Regions from separate parts of the Homo sapiens genome. Here region 2 is linked to region 1. Evidence: promoter capture Hi-C in 16 types of primary human blood cells and fetal thymus (Javierre and others, 2016). All regions are on one chromosome and are shown on one strand. Each heading gives the region's core, a stretch centred on a gene start or on the middle of the fragment in contact. The rest is flanking DNA. Distances are from core to core; before and after follow the strand shown.

Evidence for each region. Contacts are between HindIII fragments. The CHiCAGO score rates a contact against its expected background, and 5 or more counts as called.
Region 2: a contact is called between a fragment that was not itself captured here and the fragment with the promoter of KCTD2 in region 1, in 5 of 17 cell types (erythroblasts, M2 macrophages, megakaryocytes and 2 more). The highest score is 9.2, in erythroblasts.

The regions. Positions count from the first base shown.
Region 1 is chr17:75,045,762-75,052,107 of GRCh38, forward strand. It overlaps KCTD2 (potassium channel tetramerization domain containing 2), which reads left to right and starts at 1,464. Exons shown (of 6, transcript NM_015353.3): 1 at 1,464-1,828; 2 at 3,459-3,567. The coding sequence starts at 1,490. ATP5PD (ATP synthase peripheral stalk subunit d) reads right to left here and starts at 1,208. Exons shown (of 6, transcript NM_006356.3): 1 at 1,164-1,208. RefSeq lists enhancers at 675-744, 683-1,268, 1,153-1,447 and a silencer at 1,145-1,574. The HindIII fragment of the contact is 5,200 bases long and covers 1-4,237 here.
Region 2 is chr17:75,208,747-75,215,101 of GRCh38, forward strand. It overlaps NUP85 (nucleoporin 85), which reads left to right. Exons shown (of 19, transcript NM_024844.5): 3 at 1,077-1,239; 4 at 3,246-3,316; 5 at 4,330-4,373. Among named protein-coding and RNA genes, the nearest start is that of NUP85, 6.2 kb to the left of the region's middle. The HindIII fragment of the contact is 5,491 bases long and covers 1,878-6,355 here.

The sequences.
Region 1 (6,346 bases), core at 214-2,713:
TTAACACAATTATTACAGGGTCCTGGAACGATATACATCCTCAACTGACAGGATTAAGAGATTAAAGACAAGACAGGCATAGGAAATCAGAAGAGTATTGACTGGGGAAGTGATAAGTGTCCATGAAATCTCTACAATTTATGTTTAGAGATTGCAGTAAAGACAGGCATAAGAAATTACAAAAGTATTAATTTGGGGAACTAATAAATGTCCATAAAATCTTCACAATCCACGTTCTTCTGCCATGGTTTCAGCCGGTCTCTCTGTTTGGGGTCCCTGATTTCCCGCAACATCAGTGGAAAATGGAAGTCACAAATAACTTTGTGTGTGTGTGTGAGTGAGACGGAGTCTCGCACTGTCGCCTGGGCTGGAGTGTAGTGGCGTGGTCTCGGCTCACTGCAACCTCCGCCTCCCGGGTTCAAGCGATTCTCCTGCCTCAGCCTCCCGAGCAGCTGGGATTATAGGGGCCTTCCACCACGCCCAGCTAATTTTTTGTATTTTTAGTAGAGGCGGGGTTTCACTACGTTGGCCAGGCTGGTCTCGAACTCCTGACCTCGCGATTCGCCCGCCTTGGCCTCCTAAAATTCTGGGATTACAGGCGTGAGCCACCGCGCCCGGCGAAATTTTTTTTAATTCTTAAAAATCTATTGCTTAATCCCCAGCGCCTAGAACAGATCATGCGCATAGGAGGTGCTCAATGAATCTTTCTTGAATGAGTAACCGAACTCTGCACCCGAGGAGCCCTGAACGCTCTATACGTTCGAATCCTGGAAGCTGCCGAAGGGGAAGGGCGCAGCCCCGCAGCCAGCTGAGCGTCCCTCGGCAGGTTAACACTGTCTGCGTAATGTTTCCCCAGTCCCCCCACCAAACTATTGAAGTCTGCCGCGCTGGGAGCGGACTGCACGAGACACGGCTTGTGGCAGCGCCTACATCAGCGGCGCCTGGGACACAGCCGGGCCCCCCTGACCCCGCGCGCCAAGGAGGGCTGAGGAAGGGATCGCGGGGCGAGGAGCGGCAGCTACACAAGGGACACTCTGCCAGCGGGGCAAGCCGAGGGCCCAGCGTCCTTGACGGGGGCGTGACAAGGGTCGGCGTGAGGTTTGGAGAGGGCAGAGCAGAGGAGCCCTCCAGGGATCGGATCCAATGCCCCAAGCCCCACTCACCTTCACCGACCCTGGCTGCCCACGGTCCTCCGCAGCAAGTAACGGAAGTGGGTCACGGGAAGATCTTTCCTCAGCCAACCCCAAAGCCAAGGGGGTGGGCCTTGCTTCGCAGATCAGCCAATAGAGATGAGGGCTGGTTCCGGAAGTATCTTCCCGGGGGCGGGCACAGCGCCTCCCCCGCGCGGGTCCCCGGGCGCTGGTTGGGGGCGCTCCCGTCCCTCTCCCCTCTGCCCCACCCCCGCCGATGGGCCGGCCCGGCTCTCCCTGCCGAGAAATGGGCCGGCCCGGCTGCGCGCGGGCAGCAGCGGTGGCGGCGGCGGTCCAAGATGGCGGAACTGCAGCTGGACCCGGCGATGGCGGGGCTGGGAGGGGGCGGCGGGAGTGGGGTGGGCGACGGGGGTGGCCCAGTCCGCGGGCCCCCCAGCCCACGCCCGGCTGGCCCCACGCCCCGCGGGCACGGCCGCCCGGCTGCCGCCGTCGCGCAGCCGCTGGAGCCGGGTCCCGGACCACCCGAGCGGGCAGGGGGCGGCGGCGCGGCCCGCTGGGTCAGGCTGAACGTGGGAGGCACCTACTTCGTGACCACCAGACAGACCTTAGGCCGGGAGCCCAAGTCATTTCTCTGCCGCCTCTGCTGCCAGGAGGACCCGGAGCTGGACTCAGACAAGGTGTGCCCCGCCCTCGGGCGCGCCCCCGGGCCTTCGAACCCCCTGGTTTCTCGTAGATCGGTCCCCAGAGTCCTGAGACACGCTCCTCACAGGCAGCCCCCTCAGGCCGGGACCCCATCCTCCCCCTCCCTCCCACACTACTCGCAGGGGCCTCAGAGGGACCTCCCACTCCCCTTCTTCCATGCTGAGGCATACTCTGGCTTTCTCCCCGACCCCGCCCTTCGTTCTCTGAGACTCCTTCCCACACTGCGCCCACCTGCACCCACGAGAACGCACTCCACACCCCTTCTCCATATTCTCTGCCCCTGACATCCCACTGAGATCTGCATGAGTTTTCCCTGGCTCCTCTTCAGTCCCCCCACTGCCGGTGCCAGATGCATCCAGAACTGGGTCAGGGTTAGCTCAGGCATCCTTGTAGCTTTCTCAGACTCCCTCTCGGACCCCTCTGCCAAGTTGGGCTTCCACAGCTGCAGGAAGCGCTCCTTGTGATATCACACTGCTTTTCTATAGTCCTGGTCGCAGAACTTTTATCTGTTAACAGTCACTGGTTTAGGTCCATATTTAGATCAAATGCGTTTTTTGGAAAGAGGTTACTGTTTGCCGCTGCAAATCTAGGCTAAGACAGAAGGAAAATGAAAATTTTCCCGGGAAAATTTTGGGCAGGATGCATGGCTGCTAACCAAAGGGTTGAGAGGTGACAAGACACTTAAACCATTTCCAGTTTGAACTGTGTCAATTTCTTTTTAACTTTACGTATTCACCTTTAAGTTCTCAACTTAAAGGCACTGACCATAACTCACACCATCTTATATCCCATATAGCACTCAGCTGGTGACCTCAAAACAGAGCTGGAGTTGCGTAAACATTTGTTGTTTTCGTTTATTCCTCTTCTCTAAGAAATCTCAGATTGATGGAAACCTATCCTGCCCTAACTTTAAAGAGATTTCAAAACCCTTGCTTATAAAGGAATTATTTTTATCTACTCTATATCCTCCTTGTGGTAATAGAAGCCAGTTTCTTCTTGTTCCTTTTACTGTAAAGATGAGTAGGATTAAAGCTGCTCAGAGCCAAGTCCTGGCAGTACCGAGCTTCCTCTGGGCACAGAGCTGGGGTGTGTGAGATTACAGCTGGCAGTGCAAACTCCCACTGATGTTGGCCTTGAGCTCAGGAGCATTGCCAACTACACAGAGGTTTTCTTGGAATTAGGAATGCAGTTCAGAGGCAGTGGAAAAGTCAGAATGTCCATCTCAAGCAAAGATTTCAGTTACACAGCTACGGCATTTTCTCCCTTTCTTAATAACAAACACGCTACAGAAGAATGTTTGTCACTGTAATTATTGTCCAGGCAAAGATTGCAAATTCCAGCCAGTAAGTAAACGCCTAAATGAGTATGACTGTCTGTAACACCCTACCTAAGATGATCTTAATGTACAAGATACATAAAGCTATAGCTTTCTTACCAATAGTTTGTGACAAATGTGTAACAAAATTTGCCATCACTAAAGTCTTTTTTAGCTGATGGAATGAATTGTTGTCTTGGGGCGCTGACAAAGATGGTGAAATCCTGCCCTGCCTTTGTTTAAAATACTCCTCAAAGGTCCACAATGATACCCTTGTGTTTGGTTGGCAGGATGAGACAGGAGCCTATCTGATTGACAGGGACCCCACCTACTTTGGTCCTATCCTCAACTACCTCCGCCACGGGAAACTCATCATCACTAAGGAGTTGGCAGAAGAAGGTAAGCGCACTGTTTGCATTGGGGATTTTCAAAATGCAAGTAGAATCTTTAAAGTTGTTTTACAGATTTCAATTTTGTTTGACATTTTCATCAGGCGCATGTGCAGGTATAGTTTCAGGTTTATGAAACAGAGCAGAAACTACCAGTCTTGTCTGAGGGAGTCATGATTAAGGAAGCCTCCTTAGGCTTTGTTCAGCTTCCTGGGTGAGAAGGAAGATAGGTAGCTCCGCTTTGCAGATAACTTCAGGAGTTCTTTCCGAATCTCCAGAATTGTCACGATCCTTTTTTTACATTTGTTTGTGTGCTAGCAGTGAGTGTCTGTAGTCTGAAGAAGCAAGACATCTCTGACATTCAATTATTTATAGTTTTAATTTTGGTTTGAACTCACAGTTGTACAAAAATAATAAAGGCTTGGCCTCATTTCTTTTAAGACTCTGGCCTCATGCTTCCCTGTAAATGTTTGCAGCTGACCTAATTCATTCTCTAGTTCATTGTCAGGTGTATCATTACTTGCCTCATCTTTGTGGTTTGTAGGGCATTGGGACTATAAGTGGGTCTAGTCCACTTTCTACAAGGCTTGGCATGGTCCCACTGAAGGCATTCAGTTGTAAAGGGGACTGTCCCTAAATCCAGGGCACCCTGATCTGGGAGCTTTGGCTCTGAGTAAGAAAGCTTGTAATGGCTGTACTAGTTAATGAAGTGACTGTGAAACAACTCTGTTTCAGCTAGTAGAAAGAGGAATTGCTCTCTCTCTCTTTTTTTAAATGTCCCTTTTTAAACAATATTTCAAACGCATACAGAAGTAATGGGAATAGTACATACAGTGAATTCCTTGCATCCACTATCCAGCTTCAACAATTACCAACTCATGGGTGATCTTAATCTTATTTATTTTTCTTTTTTAATTTTTGTAAGTACCTAGTAGGTGTATATATTTATGGGGTACATGAGATTTTTCTTTTTTTTTTCTTCGCTCAGGCTGGAGTGCACTGGCACAATCTTGACTCACTGCAACCTCAGCCTCCTGGGTTCAAGCGATTCTCCTGCCTCAGCCTCCCAAGTAGCTGGGATTACAGGCGTGCACCACCATGCTTGACTAATTTTTTGTATTTTTAGTAGAGACAGGGTTTCACCATGTTGACCAGGCTGGTCTTGAACTCCTAACCTCAAGTGATCCACCTGCCTCAGCCTCCCAGAGTGCTGGGATTACAGGCCTGAGCCTCCGCGCCCGACCTGAGATGTTTGGATATAGGCATGCAGTGTGAAATAAGCACATCATGGAGAATGGGGTATCCATCCCCTCAAGCATTTATCCTTTGTGATACAAAAATTCAATTACCCTCTTTTAGTTAAGTATCTTTTCTAATGCCTTTAATTAAAAAAACTTTATTTTGAAGTAATTTAAAACTTCAAAATAAGCAAGAAAAGAGCAAGAATAACACAGAGAACTCCCTATATCCCAGATTAACCAATTTTCAATGTTATTTTTGTCATATTTGGGGTATGGGGAGATCTTTTTGTTGTTTTTTTAAGAGTCAGAGTCTATCTTATCTTGCCCAGGCTGGTCTCAAATGTCTGGCCTCACATGCTCCTCCTGCCTCAGCCTCCTGAGTAGCTGCGATTATAGGCATGAGCCATCATGCCCAGCTTTTTTTTTTTTTTTGAGACGGAGTCTTGCTCTGTTGCCCAGGCTGGAGTGCAGTGGCGCAATCTCGGCTCACTGCAAGCTCCACCTCCCAGGTTCACGTCATTCTCCTGCCTCAGCCTCCCGAGTAGCTGGGACTATAGGCGCCCACCACCACACCCAGTTAATTTTTTGTATTTTTAGTAGAGACAGGGTTTCACCATATTAGCCAGGATGGTCTCATCTCGATCTCCTGACCTTGTGATCTGCCTGCCTCAGCCTCCCAAAGTACTGGGATTACAGACATGAGCCACCGCGCCCGACCTTTTTTTTTTTTTTTTTTTTTTTTGGCGACAGAGTCTCCCTCTGTTGCCCAGGCTGGAGTGCAATGGCACTATCACAGCTCACTGCGACATCCACCTCCCGGGTTCAAGCGATTTTCCTGCCTCAGCCTCCTGAGTACCTGGGATTACAGGTGCATGCCACCACGCCTGGCTAATTTTTTTATTTTTGGTAGAGACGGGGGTTTCACCATGTTGGTCAGGCTGGTCTTGAACTCCTGACCTCGTGATCCACCCGCCTTGGCCTCCCGAAATGCTGCGATTACAGGCGTGAGCCACCATGCCCGACCTTTTTTTTTTTTAAATCATATTTGCATTGTCCTTCATTCTCTATTTCCCCCTCCCTACCCCCATCCTCTTGCCTCTCCCACCACAGTTATTTCTGAACTATTTGAGAATAGATTGCAGATTTCACCCCTTAATATTTGTATATATTTCCCAAGAACAAGGATACTGTTTTATGTAACCACAGACAGTACAGTTATCAAACTCAGGAAATTTAATACTGATGCTTTTATCTACAGCTTATATTGCAGTTTTGTCAGTTGTCCTAATAATGGCCTTTATAGCAAATTTATTCCTATAGGATCACACGTCTCATAGTTGCCCTAAGGCCTTTGAGTTCATTTAGCATGCAAGTCTTTAAATGGTTGCCTTTTATATTGTTCAAATGATTAGCATCCTATTAAGTTTGGCCCACATAAATTTGTACACACACCTCCACCCCCACCCCCAGTCCTTTTGAGGGCAGATTGGACAAAAATATCAAGTTCAGGAGGTGTCCAACATGACTAGTTCCAGGAACTAAGTGACA
Region 2 (6,355 bases), core at 3,373-5,872, 170 kb after region 1:
TATTTTGTTTTCAAGATACAACAGGGTTTTGTTGTGTCACCTGGGCTGGAGTACAGTGTGATCATGGCTCACTGCAGCCTCTACCTCTTGGGCTCAAGTGATCCTCTGCCTCAGTCTTCCTAGTAGCTGAGACTACAGGTCACCATGCCACCACGCCCAGCTAATTTTTTTTTCTTTGTAGAGATGGGAGTCTCATTTTGTTGCCTAGGCTGGTCTCGCACTCCTGGCCTCAAGCGATCCTGTTGCATTTTGGCATTTTTATTTTTGAAATGTTAGCTATTTTAGATTTTCATTGATTTTTGAGATCTTGAAGATGTTGAATCCCGGAAAAAAATTAATAGTTTTCATGAAAAATTTTCTTCATATTTAAAATGTCAAGCTTTTTATCCCTTTTTCTTTGTCCAAAGTGACCAAATTCCTATCAGTAGCTCCCTTATTGTGAACCTTGCAGATGCTTGGCCGTCACTTTTGTGTCCACAGCATGGATTCAGCTGAATAATAGTTCTGTAGGCTGAGCTGAGCCGTAGCATCCAAGGCACAGATGGAGCTGGAGAGTGACATAGCTTGTCCTTGGCTTGATTTTCCTGAGTTCCATCAGCTATTGGATAGGATGTGAATCTTTTTCTTTTCCTGATACAGTGATACAGTCTCCTTCCAGTAGAAGGATAAAACTGGAATCTTGACATTTGATTTGCTTTCTTTTTTTTTTTTTTTTTTTGAGACGGAGTCTCGCTCTGTCCAGGCTGGAATGCAGTGGTGTGATCTCGGCTCACTGCCACCTCCGCCTCCCGGTTTGAAGCAATTCTCCTGCCTCAGTCTCCTGAGTAGCTGGGAATGAAGGCATGTGCCACCACGCCCAGCTAATTTTTGTATTTTTAGTAGAGACAGGGTTTTGCTATGTTGGCCAGCCTGGTCTCGAATTCCTGACCTCGTGATCTGCCTGCCTTGGCCTCCCAAAGTGCTGGGATTATAGGCAAGAGCCACCATGCCCGGCCACAGAAAATTTTTTTAGAGTAGATTCACTTTTGGAGATGATCATAATAGATGTTAAATTTTTTTTTTCTGTTTGGTTTCAGAAAAATCAGAGATGGTGCCAAGTTGCCCCTTTATCTATATCATCCGTAAGGATGTAGATGTTTACTCTCAAATCTTGAGAAAACTCTTCAATGAATCCCATGGAATCTTTCTGGGCCTCCAGAGAATTGACGAAGAGTTGACTGGAAAATCCAGAAAATCTCAGTAAGTTGGTTGCTGTTTGGTGTTGAAGCCCACACTACACTGTGGAAAGCCAAATGAAGTACATTGTTGTCTTTTTGTGTGTTTTATGGGTTGCGTAAAGAAATAAGAGACTCCTGGTTCTAGTTGAGGCATGAGTACTGGACAGTGTACATTAGCAGTGATGGGAAGACTTAGCGGGAATATGCAAATGCTATTGATGGGCTGGCTTGACAAGCTTTATTTATATTCATATTTTACTTAGCCTCTAAAGAAGAAAATTTAGGCCACACAAGCATGTGAGAGTCGTTGAATGAGGTCACATTGTTGGGAGATTTGAAAATTAATATAAACCTAACAGTTTTGTCTCTAAAAAATTATGGTTCAGACGTTATTTGACAACAGACCAGAAAACTCTCGTACTATTTATAGATTAGGATTTTCTTGAATTGTAGTTCATAACTTCATCATTATCAGAGTGGTACTTGTTAATTGTAGACTTTTGGGACCCACCTCAGATCATCAAAATCAAAATCTCCGTGGTTGGATCTTAAAATCTCCAGCACACTGAAGTTTAAGAACTCCTGTGTTAGATTTTTGTCAGCGTCCCTTCACATGGATGGCTAGGGAATGGGCAGTGTTGGTATGTTACTTCTTTGATAAGCTTTTCACAAATGAATCATTCTGGACAAGACTCAGGTCAGCTTCTGTGTGAGTGTGTGCAAGAGTGATTATTGGTTGTTTTTCTGTTTTTTTTCGAGGCAGAGTTTCGCTCTGTCACCCAGGCTGGAGTGCAGTGACGCGTTCTCCGCTCACTGTAAGCTCTGCCTCCTGGATTCACGCCATTCTCCTGCCTCAGCCTCCCGAGTAGCTGGGACTACAGGCGCCTGCCACCACATCCGGCTAATTTTTTGTATTTTTAGTAGAGACGGGGTTTCACCGTGTTAGCCAGGATGGTCTCGATCTCGTGACCTCGTGATCCACCTGCTTCGGCCTCCCAAAGTGCTGGGATTACAGACGTGAGCCACTGTGCCTGGCCCTGTTTTTTTTTTTTTTTTTGAGACAGAGTTTCACTCTGTCACCCAGGCTGGAGTGCAGTGGCGCAATCTTGGCCCACTGCAGCCTCTGCCTCCTGGGTTGAAGCCATTCTCCTGCCTCAGCCTCCTGAGTAGCTGGGATTACAGGTGCGTGCCACCACGCCTGGCTAATTTTTGCATTTTTAGTAGAGATGGGGTTTCATCATTTTGGCTGGGCTGGTCTTGAACTCCTGACCTCAAGTGATCTGCCCACCTCAGCGTCCCAAAGTGCTGGGATTATAGGAGTGAGCCACTGCACCTGGCCTGATTATTGGATTTAAGGGACTCTAGTGGAGAATATTGGTGAGTTTGAGAAATCTATTGTCACTTCTAGGAAAAAAACATGTCAAAAGTCCTGTAATTCCTTGCTGGCAGGGGACCCTGTCTTATTCTTTTTTTTTTTTTTTCAGATGGAGTCTCACTCTGTCGCCCAGGCTGGAGTGCAATGGCATGATCTTGGCTCACTGCAACCTCCGCCTGCCGGGTTCAAGAGATTCTCCTGCCTCAGCCTCCTGAGTAGCTGGGATTTTTGTATTTTTAGTAGAGACAGGGTTTCACCAGGTTGGCCAGGCTGGTCTCAAACACCTGACCTCAGGTGATCTGCCCACTTTCACCTCCCAAAGTGCTGGGATTACACGCCTGAGCCACCGGGCCTGGCCAGTAAATACATTTATGTATCTTTTTTATTTTTTTGAGACAAGGTCTGACCAGTAGATTTCATCTGCAACAATTAATGGCAGTATGGGTTTGTGGATATTAACTTTAGCCCATGGGTTGTTTTGTGGCGTTTTATTTTGTTGTCCAAGTTGTTCCAGCTTCAGAAGGTTAGGAGCTCCTTCACAACGGCTCTCCTCTTTCTTTCAGCAAATTTCTGCATTTATTTGAGTGTTTCCTTCCTTTGTGGCACTACAAGATGTTCCAGGCTCATCTTGTGTGTTATTTCATTTTTTGTAGATTGGTTCGAGTGAGTAAAAACTACCGATCAGTCATCAGAGCATGTATGGAGGAAATGCACCAGGTTGCAAGTAAGGACTGTGTGCGCGTGCGCGCGTGTGTGTGTGTGTGTGTGTGTGGGTATTTTGAGTATTTATCTATGCATAAATACTGTGAGGTAAAGTTTGATTGATATTCCAGTCCAAAACTTATTTTTCCATCTTTCATAATCCTTACTTTTTTGGTAATCATTTAGAGGTTTTTTTTTTTGTTGTTGTTTTTTTTTTTTTTTTTTTTTTTTTTTTTTTTTTTTTTTGAGACCGAGTGTTGCTCTGTCGCCCAGGCTGAGGTGCTGTGGCATGAACTCAGGTCACTGCAACCTCCACCTCCCAGGTTCAAACGATTCTCTAGCCTCAGCCTCCTGAGTAGCTGGGACTACAGTTGTACACCACCAAGCCCAGAGTTCTGGGATTACAGGAGTCAGCCACTGTGCCTGGAGTTTTTTTTTTTTTTTTTTTTTTTTTTTGAGACAAGGTTGCCCAGGCTGGAGTGCAAAGAAACATTATGGCTCACTGCAGTCATGAGCTCACCGCCTGGGCTCAAGTGATCTTCCTACCTCATCCTTCCAAGTAGTTGGGACTGCAGGTGTGTACTACCATGCCCAGCTAATTTAAACAGTTTTTGTCCAGTTTTCCTCAGAGAACTTTGTTCTGATAATTTTTAAATTATTTGTAGAAACGGGGTCTCCCTAATTTTTCCAGGCTGTTCTTGAACTCCTGGGCTCAAGCAGTCCTTTGACATCAGCCTCCCAAAGTGTCGGGATTACAGGTGTGAGCCACTGTGCTTGGCATGTCAGAGACCTTTATGGTAGCTGTGTTGCAGTTGAAAGTGCCATTTTGTAACTTGAGGGCTTTTGGTTTGAGAATTGAAGGGATATGAAGCATTAACAGCAACAAAAAAATCCATAATTAAAAGAGATTATAATGTCTTTTAATTTTTCTCATTAAAATAAACAGAGGCTCAAGCCATAGACCCTGGAATATTCAGCTATGACAATAAGCCTAAGAGTTCCATTGCTCACTTAAAATGTTTTGTGTTTTGTTAGTTGCTGCTAAAGATCCAGCCAATGGCCGCCAGTTCAGCAGCCAGGTAAGGGGAGTCACCTTTATTGTTTTAGCACCACTGTGTCCTGTGTCCTGGGCACCCACCTGGGGTGGCTTTGCAGTTCCTGTTATGGCAGAAGTCTCTTCTTTTCAGGTAGATAGGCAGCTCCTTTGGGTGACAGTGATTGTCTTGCCCCCTTCAAGGTGTAGCTCACAAGGAAGTGCTTGTTAAATACTTGAGTGAATGTTCGGTTCCTTTTTTTTTTTTTTGAGATGGAGTCTTGCTCTGTCACCCAGGCTGGAGTGCCCTGGGTTCAAGCATTTCTCCTGTCTCAGCCTCCCGAGTAGCTGGGATTATAGGTGCATGCCACACCAAGCCCAGCTACTTTTTGCATTTTTAGTAGAGATGGGGTTTCACCATGTTGGCCAGGCTGGTCTTGAACTTTTGACCTCAAGTGATCCACCCGCCTCGACCTCCCAAAGTGGTGGGATTACAGGTGTAAGCCACCGTGCTGGCCCTGAATGTTCCGTTCTTATGGAACATATATGTCCTGACCAAATTGTGTTGAGGGGTTGTCACCTGAAATGGAGAAGTAATCTTGTGAGATCACTGCTCGGTCTCATAAACACTCCTCACTTCTTGAACTCAACATTTTTTTTTTGAAAGACAGGGTCTCTCTGTGTTGTCAAAGCTGGTCTCGAACTCTTGGGCTCAAGTGATCCTCCTGCCTTGGCCTCCCAAAGTGCTGGGATTATAGGTGTGAGCTGCCACACCTGGCAAAACTCAAGTTTTTTTTTTTTTTTTTTTTTTTTTTTGAGACGGAGTCTCTCTCTGTCGCCCAGGCTGGAATGCAGTGGCGCGATCTCGGCTCACTGCAAGCTCCGCCTCCCAGGTTCATGCCATTCTCCTGCCTCAGCCTCCCGAGTAGCTGGGCTAATTTTTTGTATTTTTAGTAGAGAGGGGGTTTCACCGTGTTAGCCAGGATGCTCTCGATCTCCTGACCTCGTGATCTGCCTGCCTCAGCCTCCCAAAGTGCTGGGATTACAAGTGTGAGCCACTGCGCCCGGCTAAACTCAACATTTTTACTGAGTTGCAAGTGGCTCTACTTTACTTGGAGCTGGAAGATGACTTACAGTATCTTTTTCCTCAGTAGATGCTTCATATTAGATACTTTTCAAAGTCAGTAGTGACTAGGTAGTAATTCACTGTCTCTGAAGTACCCTTATGAACAAGTCATCATGGTGTCTGTGGACTGAAGGATGGTGAGGAAGGGAAGCCTGCGTATTCCTAAGGGCAAGGTCCAGGTCTGATTTATTTCGGGGTCTTATATTGGGCTTTCCCGTTAATAGACTGTTCCCCTAAACTTCAGTCCTTTGAATACCAGCTTCACAATTCTTGCTCTGTCTACGTGTTTCATGTCATCTACTGAATATTCTTCTAAATATTGTCTCTTCTTTTTACTCAAATGAAGCACCTTGCTAAAGCATCAGTTCATCAAGATAGGCTGGGCGCAGTGGCTCACGCCTGTAATCCCAGCACTTTGAGAGGCCGAGGTGGGTGGATCTCTTGAGGTTAGGAGTTCGAAACTAGCCTGGCCAACACGGAAACTCCATCTCTACTAAAAATACAATATTTAGCTAGGCGTGGTGGTGTGCGCCTGTAATCCCAGCCACTTGGGAGGCTGAGGCAGGAGAATTGCTTGAACCCTGGAGGCAGAGGTTGCAGTGAGCCGAGATCATGCCACTGCACTCCAGCCTGACTGACAGAGTGAGACTCTGTCTCAAAAAAAAAAACAAAAAACAAAAACTGAGTGTTGGCAGGGCACGGTGGCTCAAGCCTGTAATCCCAGCACTTTGGGAGGCCGAGGCAGGTGTATCACGAGGTCAGGAGATCGAGACCTTCCTGGCTAACAAGGTGAAACCTCGTCTCTACTAAAAATACAAAAAATTAGCTGGGCATGGTGGCAGGCGCCTGTAATCCCAGCTACTGGGGAGGCTGAGGCAGGAGAATCACTTGAACCCGGGAGG